3 separate regions of the Homo sapiens genome follow, and regions 1 and 3 are each linked to region 2. The links are contacts of gene promoters, found by promoter capture Hi-C in blood cells and fetal thymus (Javierre and others, 2016). All regions are on one chromosome and are shown on one strand. Each heading gives the region's core, a stretch centred on a gene start or on the middle of the fragment in contact. The rest is flanking DNA. Distances are from core to core; before and after follow the strand shown.

Region 1 (3,471 bases), core at 221-2,720, 490 kb before region 2:
CCAATGACCAAAGCAGCACTGGGTATGCCTTTTTTTCAGATTGGACTTCTGCATAAGATTTCATTTGAACCAAGTGTTTGGAAAAGTTTACACAGATGCTATTGCATCAGCTCAAAAAGCTAGTCAATAAGGTGGGAGATGCACCTGCACAGCAACCTAAATCAATACCAAATCGCAGACACAGAGACTAGAATGCAGGAAAAATGGACAGATCTTGGGAGTCCTGGGAAGAACTCATTAAATAGAATAGGACAAGCAGATCCCAACAGTGTCTAAGGCTTCAAGGGATACACTAGGGCCAAGAAAATCATTAAAGATCCGTATTCTATCCTGAATGGCAATCTTGATTCAGTCACTGGGAGAGAATGACAGAAATCCACATTCAAAAAATTAAAGAATAACATTAATTTAAAAATTGAAGAGTAACATTCTAAGAAAGACAGTTTCTGGTCAATGTTTAGACATCAGAATTAAAGACAGCCTCTTTTAAGGATTTAAAAAGAAAGGAAGCATTGAGAGATGTAAGAAGAAAACAAATCTGGAGTTTACCCCTTAAACTATAGAGAACAGAAAAGGAAGGCTTCGGGGAAAACATACAAAACTAAGAGAAATGGAGTTGTCAGTATCCTTGCAGGGCTGGTCAGGTTGACCTTTCAAGGTCTGATTGGCCTTTTGCTTGACCTTTAACCTAGGCCAGGTTGACCTTTTATGAGCTAATATGAGATATGTCAGAGGTACTGAAATAATTTGTCAACCCCACATCCCACAGCTGCAAGAACTTCCATCAGGGGCAAGGCAGATTTGAATTACATGAAAACCCTTCTGAAAGAGAAATTGTCTAGGACATCCCCAGAGGGCACAGTTAACAAAGAAACATTAATAACTATAAAACAGACAATAAAATATGAGAAGCACAAGATAAAACTAGATTCCTGAAAAGAGCTGATTACTGGGGTTAAGTCACATATACCTGGTCTCCATGGCATTCACGGCAGGGTCTCAGTAATTATTTTTAAATGAATACATCAATGTGCCAGATACTGTGCTAGATACTGAGAATATGGCAGTTACAACACAGACATGGTTTCACAACACAGACATGGAATTTAGAGTCCAGTAGATTGGGAGTGCAGAATGAAGGGAAATCAAGATGCTAAAATTTACTACAGTGGCAATGCAAATAAAAAGAGAAAGCAGGCCATAGCAGCCCTTAAAAATAGACTTAGGAAGTAGTAAAAAGCATAAATATATCAACTTATATTTAAGCCAAAAAGATAAAATCCTCTGGATAAAGAAGAACCAGGCCAGGAGTGGTGGCTCACGCCTGTAATCCCAGCACTTTGGGAGGCCAAGATGGGTGGATCATTTGAGCTCAGGAGTTCAAGACCAGACTGGGCAACATGGTAAAATGCCATCTCTACCAAAAATTAAGAAATTAGCCAGGTGTGGTGGCACATGCCTGTAGTCCCAGCTACTCTGGAGGATTGCCTGAGCTAGGGAGGCTGAAGCCGCAGTGAGCCATGATTGTCCCAGTCTAGGCAATAGAGCAAGACTCTGTCTCAAAAAAAAAAAAAAAAAAAAAAAAGAAGAAGAAGAAGAAGAGATGAGAAGAAGAGGAGGAGGCGGAGGAGGAAGAGGAACCAGTAACAGAATTAAGAACAAAATCTAACAATCTGTTGCTTAAAGAAGACTGAAAAATGAAAGTTACTTGTAAACTAAAAGAGGGGATTAAGCTATGTGAAAAACACAACAGATAATAGCGTACAATTCTACCAAATGTAATGAGGTCCTATAATATAAATACCATAATTCCACTTGCTATATCATCAAGATTGATGAACAGATAGTTTATATACAAGAAAAATCAGACATTTAATTATCTATTGAGAAAATGCACTCCTAGCACTATGAGAAAAAATAACAAATTGAACCATCTTCTAGGCACCATTACTCACGGGTTCAACTAATGAAAATAAATTAGAGTGATAAAGTCCAATGCTAGCAATCAGGAGAAATATGTATTCATACTCCTAGAGGCACTGTAAATGAGTCTTATCTTTCTGGAGACAATCAGGAAATACTGCAATGAGAACTATAAAGTTGTTCATATCCTTTGTTTTGGTAACTCTAAATCTTAAGAAAATATCCTCTAAAGGAAAAAAATCATTTTTAATAATAATGTTCTCATTGGCACTAGGTATAATGTTTTACATAGAAATAATTAGAAAAAGCATTATGAAACATAATATTTAAAACTAGAGAAATAACACTAAACTCTTAGTGTTAAGGGATTAACTAAATAACCATAAGATGTTGGCTTAACTATAGGTATTAAAACAGGCATTTTTCTGCATCCACCTATGACAGGATAAGACAGTCCAGAATTAACTTCCCACAATAAAATACTAGAAAAATGGACAAAATATAGACAATAACAATTTTCAGACACTGAACAACAGGCAGAAATGAACTATGATTCCTTAGAAAAGGGAACAAAGGAGGTAAGGTCCACATTGCCAAGACTTTCTGTCTGAGGTAATTACCAGACTGTGGTTCACAGAAGGAAATTCCATACAGTCTCTCTGAGTCGAGGAGTTAGACTGAAATTCTGAAATGCCTAGGTGGCTAGAATTAGGTGCAGAGCAGGGTACGCAAGTGAAGAGAGCTACACTAAGAAAGAGCATCAGAAATTTGGATAGAGGTCCTTTTGTGTCTTTGAATGAATGCCAGTAAGTGCATGCATAGAGTAAAATCCTACAAGGCCAGAAGAGAACAACTTACAAGGAAAGGACAATTGCTGAGGTGCTATATGAAAAATATTTCCCAGAGGTTACACAATGCCGGGAGTTATTTGAATTGCTTCTAGCAAGTGTAAAAGACCTCATTAAATATTCATGGAATTAAGTGGAACCCTCAGAAAGACCACACCTTACAAATGGGGTTAAATCAGCTCTAGAATAAAGGCTGCTCCAGACCCACTTTAACTGAGTTTAAAAACAAACCTGAAGAGGATCAGTCTAATCCATAAGTAATGTAATTGCCTGCCAGAAAATGTCCAACACCCCTTTAAAGAGTATAGTAAAACCCAGCCTGAAAAATGTAAAATTAAATATCCACCATCAAATTAAAAGTTGCTAGACATACAAAAAGGCAAGAAAATTGGAACAGTAATCAGGAGAAAAATTAGTCAATATAAGCAGACCTAAAAATGATAGTGATGATGGATTAGCAGATAATGACTTTAAAAGATTACACACACACACACACACACACACACTTCCACATTCTCAAGGATATAAAGGACATGTGATCATTATAAGGAAAGAAATGTAACACTTTTAAAGATCCAAATGGAACTTATAGAAATAAAAAATACAACATCTGAAATGAAAATTTCCCTGGGATGGCATTAACCGCAGGATTAAGAATCAGTAAACTTGAAGAAAGAGCAATTAGAAAATATTCAAAATG
Region 2 (3,432 bases), core at 129-2,628:
CCAGAGCTTGCTAGCTCCCCAAACCCTAACTAGTCCCAAAGAACTTTCTTGAAGAGCAATATGTAACAGCTCTCCTGTTTCTAAAACCTCTAACCTTCTCTTTGTTCTTCAGACATACTGAAGACCACCCTGTCTGCATATATGCCCCAAATTGCTATTCTTTCTTTCCAAATAAAAAATTTTAATTTAGAGACTTGTCTCACATTTTTATTCTGGCTTCAACATACTAAAGCCCTAAGCTAGGAGTCTGCTTGACTTATCCAAGAATCCACAAAGTAACCAGTATGTCTAAAGCCTAATGAGTGAGAAAAAAAGTGGTAGGAAGTGAGGTCAGAGGAATAGCCAGGGGTCACATCCATCATCAGGCCATAGTCAGGATTTTGGATTTCATTTTAAATGTGGTAAGATGCCAGAGTGTGAAGAGAAGAGAAGGAAATGATTGTTGTATGATAAAATAATTGCTCAGTTGTGTGGAAAATAGGCTAAGGAGGGCAGGGACTTAAAAGTGGAGATATGGCCGGGCTCGGTGGCTCATGTCTGTAATCCCAGCACTTCAGGAGGCTGAGGCGGGCGGATCACGAGGTCAGGAGATTGAGATGAGCCTGGCTAACACAGTGAAACCCCATCTCTACTAAAAATACAAAAAATTAACCGGGCGTGGTAGCAGGCGCCTGTAGTCCCAGCTACTGGGGAGGCTGAGGCAGGAGAATGGCGTGAACCCGGGAGGCGGAGTTTGCAGTGAGCCGAGATCCCACCACTGCACTCCAGCCCGGGCGACACAGTGAGACTCCATCTCAAAAAGAAAAAAAAAAAAAAAAAAAGTGGAGATATGGAGATATACAGACCTGCTAGGAAGTTACTGTCCTGGTCCAAGCTAGAGATGATAAAGGCTGATTAGTGAGGTTAAAAAATACATTTGAAGGTAAAGCTAATTGCACAGATATATGTTGTACAGTTGTACAGATGGATGGAATAAGAGATGTAAGAGAAAGAGAATCAATGATAACGCTAGATTTCTGGCTTTAGCAATGGGGTAAATAATAGCACTCTTCAATGAAAAGCAGGAACACCCAGAGAGGAGGAAGAAAGATGGGAGGTGGGGGAAAACAATAGTTTGGGACAAATCCATAGTATGGGTTAACAGATCTATTATTATCCAAATGGAGAGGTTGACTAAGCAGTTGGATATGTAAGTATGGAGTTCAAGGGAGAAGTCAAGGCTAGAAATAAACATTTGGTGTCAAACATAAAAGATATTTAATACCATGTGTATTAGTCACAGCTCTTCAGAGAAACAGAACCAATAGGATACATGTATATATAGAGAGATTTTTTTCTTTTCTTTTTTTTAAAGAATTGACTCACACAGTTGTGAGGGCTGATAAGTCTGAAAACTCCAAGGCTGGCTGATAGGCTGGAAATTCAAGCAGGCATTGATGTGGCAATCTTGAGACTAACGGTGGTCTGGGTGCAGAATTGCTTCCTCTTTGGGAAACCTCCATCTTTTCTCTAAGGTCTTCAACTAATTGGATGAAGCCCATCCACATTATGGAGGGTCACTAGCTTTACTCAAAGCCTACTGATTTCATTGTAAGTCACATCTAAAAAATACCTTCACAGCAACATCTATGCTTTTATCTGCCAAACAACTGGGCACCGTATGCTAGCCAAGTTGACACATAAAATTAACTGTCACTCCATGGGACTAGATGAAATTACCCAGGAGTTAATGTATTTAGAGAAATAAAGATGGCCCAGGACAGAGCCCTGGCACGCTCAAACTGCAAAAGGGGAAAAGAACCCAGCAATGGAGCCTAAGAAGGAGCTGGCAGGAGGTAGGAGGAAAACCAAGACTGTGTGGTGTCTCAGAAGCCAATGAAGAAGTGCTCCAAAAAGGAAGATCAACTATTTCAAGCACTGCCAAGAAATCCTATAAGGTAAGGGCTGAGTCATGGAGGTCACTTATGAAAATGGTGGTAGGTAAGAAATCCTAATTAGAAGAAGTTCAGCAAGAAACAGAAAATAAGGAAATGGAGGGAGTAAGTATAGGCAACTCTTAAAGGGGTTTTGCTATAAAAACAAAACAAAACAAAACAACAATAGGAAAGGAGCTAAAGAGGGATGTAGGATAGAGGAATTTTTTTTTTTTTTTTTTTTTGAGACAGAGTCTCACTCTGTCACCCAGGCTGGAGTGCAGAGGCACGATCTCAGCTCATTGCAACCTCTGCCTCCTGGGTTCAAGCAATTCTCCTGCCTCAGCCTCTCGAGTAGCTGGGACTACAGGTGCATGCCACCACACCCAGCTAATTTTTGTATTTTCAGTAGAGAGAGGGTTTCACCATGTTGGCCAGGCTGGTCTTCAACTCCTGACTTCGTGATCCACCCTCCTCGGCCTCCCAAAGTGCTGGGATTACAGGGGTGAGCCACCGTGCCTGGCCAGACTTTTTGGTTTTTTTGGTTTGTCTAAGAAGGAAATTATTACAGCATGTTTTTATGCTAAAGGAATAATCCAGTAGAGGGAACTTTGGCAATTTCCAAAGAAGGAGCAAAAAGAGATAATTGCAGAACCAAAGTCTGTTGAATATACCCTTATTATGCAGTGTAGACTTTGAAGTCAAATCCAGGTTCTATTACTAACTGCAAAGCCAAGTTACTAAGCCTCTCTGCTTCTTCATCTTCTTTCTACAAGGCCCTTTGTGGTCCTTCCACCCCTTCATCTCACCCAAACTTCTCCTCAATCCCCATGATTCAGTCATTAGCTTGCTTTCAGTCCCTGTAATTACTGTCCTCCCTCCCACCACAGGGCTTTGCTAACTTCCAAGCATTGAGCAAATCTAGTTTGAACAGGTTTTCCTTGGGAAAACCAACAGAGAAGTCAAATCCCCCTATGAAATGTTCTCATGTTACCATCTATTCTTTCTGCCTAGTACTTACTACAATTGCAATCATACTTTTATGAGTATTTGATCAATGTCCACCTCCCTCACTCTAGAATAGCACAGTCCAAGAGGACTTTCTGTGGTGATGAAAATATTCTAAATCTACACTGTCCAACCCAATAGCCACTCACCACATGTGACTATTAAGTACATAAAAGATGGCTAGTACAGGTGTGGATGTGAAGTTCTAATGTTATTTAAGTTTAATTAATATAGATGTACATAGCCACATGTGAGCAGGGACCAGGATTAGTTATGCTCACCATCATGTTCCCAGCACTTAATATAGTATGCACACATAGTAATTGATCAATAAATAATTGTTGAGAGATTAAATCTGTAAAAATGCAGATATTACTTAGTTAATTTGTATATTCCATCTTTTTCACAGAGAAAAGGAGAAAAAAAAGCTTTTACAAGGTAAATGTTAGGGGGTCCTCAGTTTTATAAAGGTAATTTGGCCTTTAAGAATTTGATCAGAGGCTGGGTGCGG
Region 3 (3,749 bases), core at 723-3,222, 420 kb before region 2:
TTCCCTAATTCATATTGATTAGGAAAAGCTTGGTTTTTAACTAGCTACGTCAGAATTAAAGACAATATTCAATCACATTCAATTGAATTACTTTTAAGTATAAAGAGTAAATTCAAAAGAGTTTCCAAGTAAACAGTGCTTGCTTTAGTAAACAGATAAGACTTCCTGATTAATAATAAAGAATATTCATTTGCACATGCTATGTTAAACTCTTGAAATACTAATTTATCTTCTCAAGATTAAACAAACCTTCAATCATGTCTCCAGTAATTTGCTCAGCAGAAAAACTTTCTAACAGATAACAGACAGTTGAGTGGTAGCACTGCCTATGCCGAGCTGGTAAGTGCAGGAAGGAAGGTCAGGAGACATTCACCAATATGCTTTAATTGAATGCCTTCTGTATACCAGACACAGCCCTTAGCCCTGAGACTACAGAGATGGGTGAGAACTTTGGAATTACAGAGCGCGCACTGTAGCTGAAGAGACAGGTGATGATAGGTAGATAACTCTACGGAAGCAGACAAGGAAAAAGATAGTCCTGCACTGGAGCCCGAGGAAAGCTCCCTGGGTAAGAACTGAGCTTACCAAGTGACTTCTAGGTGACAGGAAAGTGTTTCACAAGTAGAGACAGGGAACATTGGCAGAGGGAGCAAGAACATTGTCATCAAGTGCTTGGAGTCATGTGGGTGAGGAGGTGGAGAAGATGGAGATGATGCTGGAGAAATGGGTTGAGGTTGGGATGATGAAATGCCTTGATGGCCAGGCTAAGGCATTTGGGTTGGGTTCTGCAGGTAATGAGAGGCCATAGCAACAGTTACAGGGGTGCACTGAACAGGGCTCCAGTCAATGATGGATGAATAAATGGCTTGATATGTGACTGCATGAAATAAACATGCTGATGCATTCAACTAGGGGACATTGACGCCAGGAGACCAGTAAGGACACAGGGCACCCATCCAGGCAAGAGATGAGTAATGAGGCTTGGACCAGGTGCTGACAGCAGATGGGAGAAGAGGCCCAAATATTCTTAAATGACCCAGGTAAGAAAGTCAAGACTTGGTCAAAAATGCCATAGGAAGTCGCCCTTTACTTGGCAAAGGCTGACATGCCATGCCACTGTGCATGGTCCCAGGAAAAGAAAAGAAAAGTGCTCCTGAGTCCAGAATCTCCAGGAGCCCTGAGGAAAGATGATGTTGAACTCTGGGATTTACAAAGCATTCCTTTTCATGGGCAGGTCATGCCACTTCTGAGCAAGCTCCTTGTTTTAAATTTTCTTATTTTTTTCAATGGAGAGGCCACTTAGTTGGGAAGAAATACAAAACATCTGTGTGTTAGGGTGCTCCAGAGGAACAGAATCAGTAGGATATATAAGACATATATAAGAGGAGGTTTATTATGGAAATTGACTCGTGTGATTATGGAGGCTGTGAAGTCCCATGATATGTCATTGGCAAGCTGGAGAACCAGGAAAGCTGGTGGTGAGATTCAGTCTGGATACGAGGGCCGGAGAACCAGGAGCTCCGACGTCCCAGCTCAAGAAAAGAGAGAATTGGCCCTTCCTCCACCTTTTTGTTTGATCCAAGGCCTCAAGTGATTGGAAGGATGCCCGGCCACACTGGAGAGGAAGCTCTTCTTTACTCAGTCTACTGATTCAAAGACTAATCTCTTCCAGAAACACCCTCACAGACACACCCAGAAATAATGTTTTACCAGTTATCTGGGCATCCCTTAATCCAGTCACATTGTCACAAAAAATTAACTATCACAATATGTCAACACGAAGCAGTGAGGAGGACCCAGGGAAATCGGGGTCCCCATCCACTGCTGGCGGGTGTCCTGAGACACACACTATAGGGACACACTTATACTTGTGCATCTGAAGGCAGACATGCACCAGGATGCTTTGATCAATGTTATTCATAATGATAAAAAAATGGAAGCAATTTATCTGTCTACCTATAGGTAGATACATAAATAGAATGCAATATAATCATATGATGGAACATGATACAGTAATTGGAACAGACTGAGGGATCCACAGGGCTGGACATCAAAACACATAGTTGTACAGAACAGGCAAATTGAAGAGTAATATATTCAGTATGATAGCACCTACATAAATTATGAAAACATAAACCTGTGTTGCATATTGTATCTGGGTCCAGATATAGGAGTCACAGTATAAAACAAACACTGGAATTTATATTGTAAATTCATAAGAGGTTGAGAGGCAGGGATGAAGGGGAGAAGAGGAGATTCAAAAGAGATTTCTACCTTGGTGATGGTTTGTTTATTTTATTTTATTCTTTTTTTGAGACCGAGTCTCACTCTGTTGCTCAGGCTGGAGTGCAGTACCGTGATCTCGGCTCACTTCAACCTCTGCCTTCCCGGTTCAAGCAATTCTCCTGCCTCAGCCTCCCATGTAGCTGGGAGTACAGGTGTACAGGTGTGCACCACCACGCCCAGCTATGTTTTTTTTTTTTTTTTTTTTTTTTTGTATTTTTAGCAGAGTCGGGGTTTCACCATGTTGGCCAGGCTGGTCTTGAATTCCTGACCTCAAGTAATCCGCCCGCCTCAGCCTCCCAAAGTGCTGCGATTACAGGCGTGAGCCACCGTGCCTGACCCTGATGGTTTATTTCTATTATATAGGCAGATCTATAAAAGATCTGAAGCAAATATGCCACAATGTTACATTTGTGAATTCAGGATGGTGAGTAAAAAGTGTTTATTATATCATCTGCTGCACTTTATCTTCAAAAATTTCCCAAGTAGACAAAAGGAAAAAAGAAAAAAGGTAGGGTGGGTGGGAGCCAAACAGAAGGCTTGGAAACCATTTCTGTGCTCTTTGCACAGCAAAGGGAGCATGCAGATGGCGAGTTAACATACCTAGGAGGCTCCCCTGGGGTTTAATGTTGCATTGTGTACCCTCAGAACGACTGCTCAGCAAAGGCAAAATAAACACATTTCCTGTGCTTCCCTTTCTCAGCTCCGCAGCCCTGCCAAAGTGGGGGTGGGAGGGTCACATCATTTATTTACACAAGGTCCTCTTTATATGGACACCTCCAATAACGTTATTCATCGGGTTGGCTCCTCCAGGGCTGCCCCACTGTTCCCAGCAGGCCAGGAGTGTGACTTCACGGTGAAGCGTCACGTCCAAGTTACTCTGTACGTGGCAATGCCAGCTACCCACAAGAAAGGAGGGCTGTGAAGGGGGAGCTGGGGCCGCTTCTGGGTAATGGATTTCCCCCGCCCCCATTTCTGGCAAAGAGCTCTGTGGTCACAGAATTAAAAAAATCTATCAATTGTAAGCTAAGGCACATGCTGGGTGGAAGTGAGAGTGAGGGAACCTATTCTTATCACTAGCTCTGAGGTAAGATAGAAATGTCTGGAAGCTCCCCGCTTGCAGCTGGGAACTGTGCCTTAGTCATCTTTATGTTTCCATGGCTTTGCACAAAGTAGGTGCTCAGGAAATGCTTGTTCAATAAGCAAACCACAAGGACACATACACACACACACACACACACACACACACTCATTGTGTTGTGAATTGTGTTTTCATGAGTTTTCTTTCTCTTCACAGACAGTGTCATCTAATGGTTAAGGATGTTGATTCTGGAACCAAACTGCCTAATTCTAGGAACAGACACAAAACCTCTACCTCAGTGCCTTCAAACTATCAGGCCTTGGAGGGGGCTGAGCTGAGGCCCTCCCCACAATAGCTGGCACATAAGGAGCATTCGAGGAATGTT

The links. The method cuts DNA at HindIII sites, captures the fragments that hold promoters and counts their contacts. A CHiCAGO score of 5 or more calls a contact.
Region 1: a contact is called between a fragment that was not itself captured here and the fragment with the promoter of TXNRD1-AS1 in region 2, in 1 of 17 cell types (neutrophils). The highest score is 5.7, in neutrophils.
Region 3: a fragment that was not itself captured here is called in contact with the fragment with the promoter of TXNRD1-AS1 in region 2 in 1 of 17 cell types (neutrophils); the score reaches 5.3 in neutrophils.

The regions. Positions count from the first base shown.
Region 1 is chr12:104,773,278-104,776,748 of GRCh38, reverse strand. No RefSeq gene overlaps it. Among named protein-coding and RNA genes, the nearest start is that of SLC41A2, 180 kb to the left of the region's middle. The HindIII fragment of the contact is 9,463 bases long and covers 1-3,471 here.
Region 2 is chr12:104,278,789-104,282,220 of GRCh38, reverse strand. TXNRD1-AS1 (TXNRD1 antisense RNA 1) reads left to right here and starts at 1,378. Exons shown (of 2, transcript XR_007063431.1): 1 at 1,378-1,937. All of the region lies in intron 3 of TXNRD1 (thioredoxin reductase 1), which reads right to left. RefSeq lists a silencer at 1-150. The HindIII fragment of the contact is 3,745 bases long and covers 1-3,351 here.
Region 3 is chr12:104,695,230-104,698,978 of GRCh38, reverse strand. The region is part of intron 2 of CHST11 (carbohydrate sulfotransferase 11); the gene reads right to left. Among named protein-coding and RNA genes, the nearest start is that of MIR3922, 110 kb to the right of the region's middle. RefSeq lists an enhancer at 3,118-3,257. The HindIII fragment of the contact is 3,884 bases long and covers 31-3,749 here.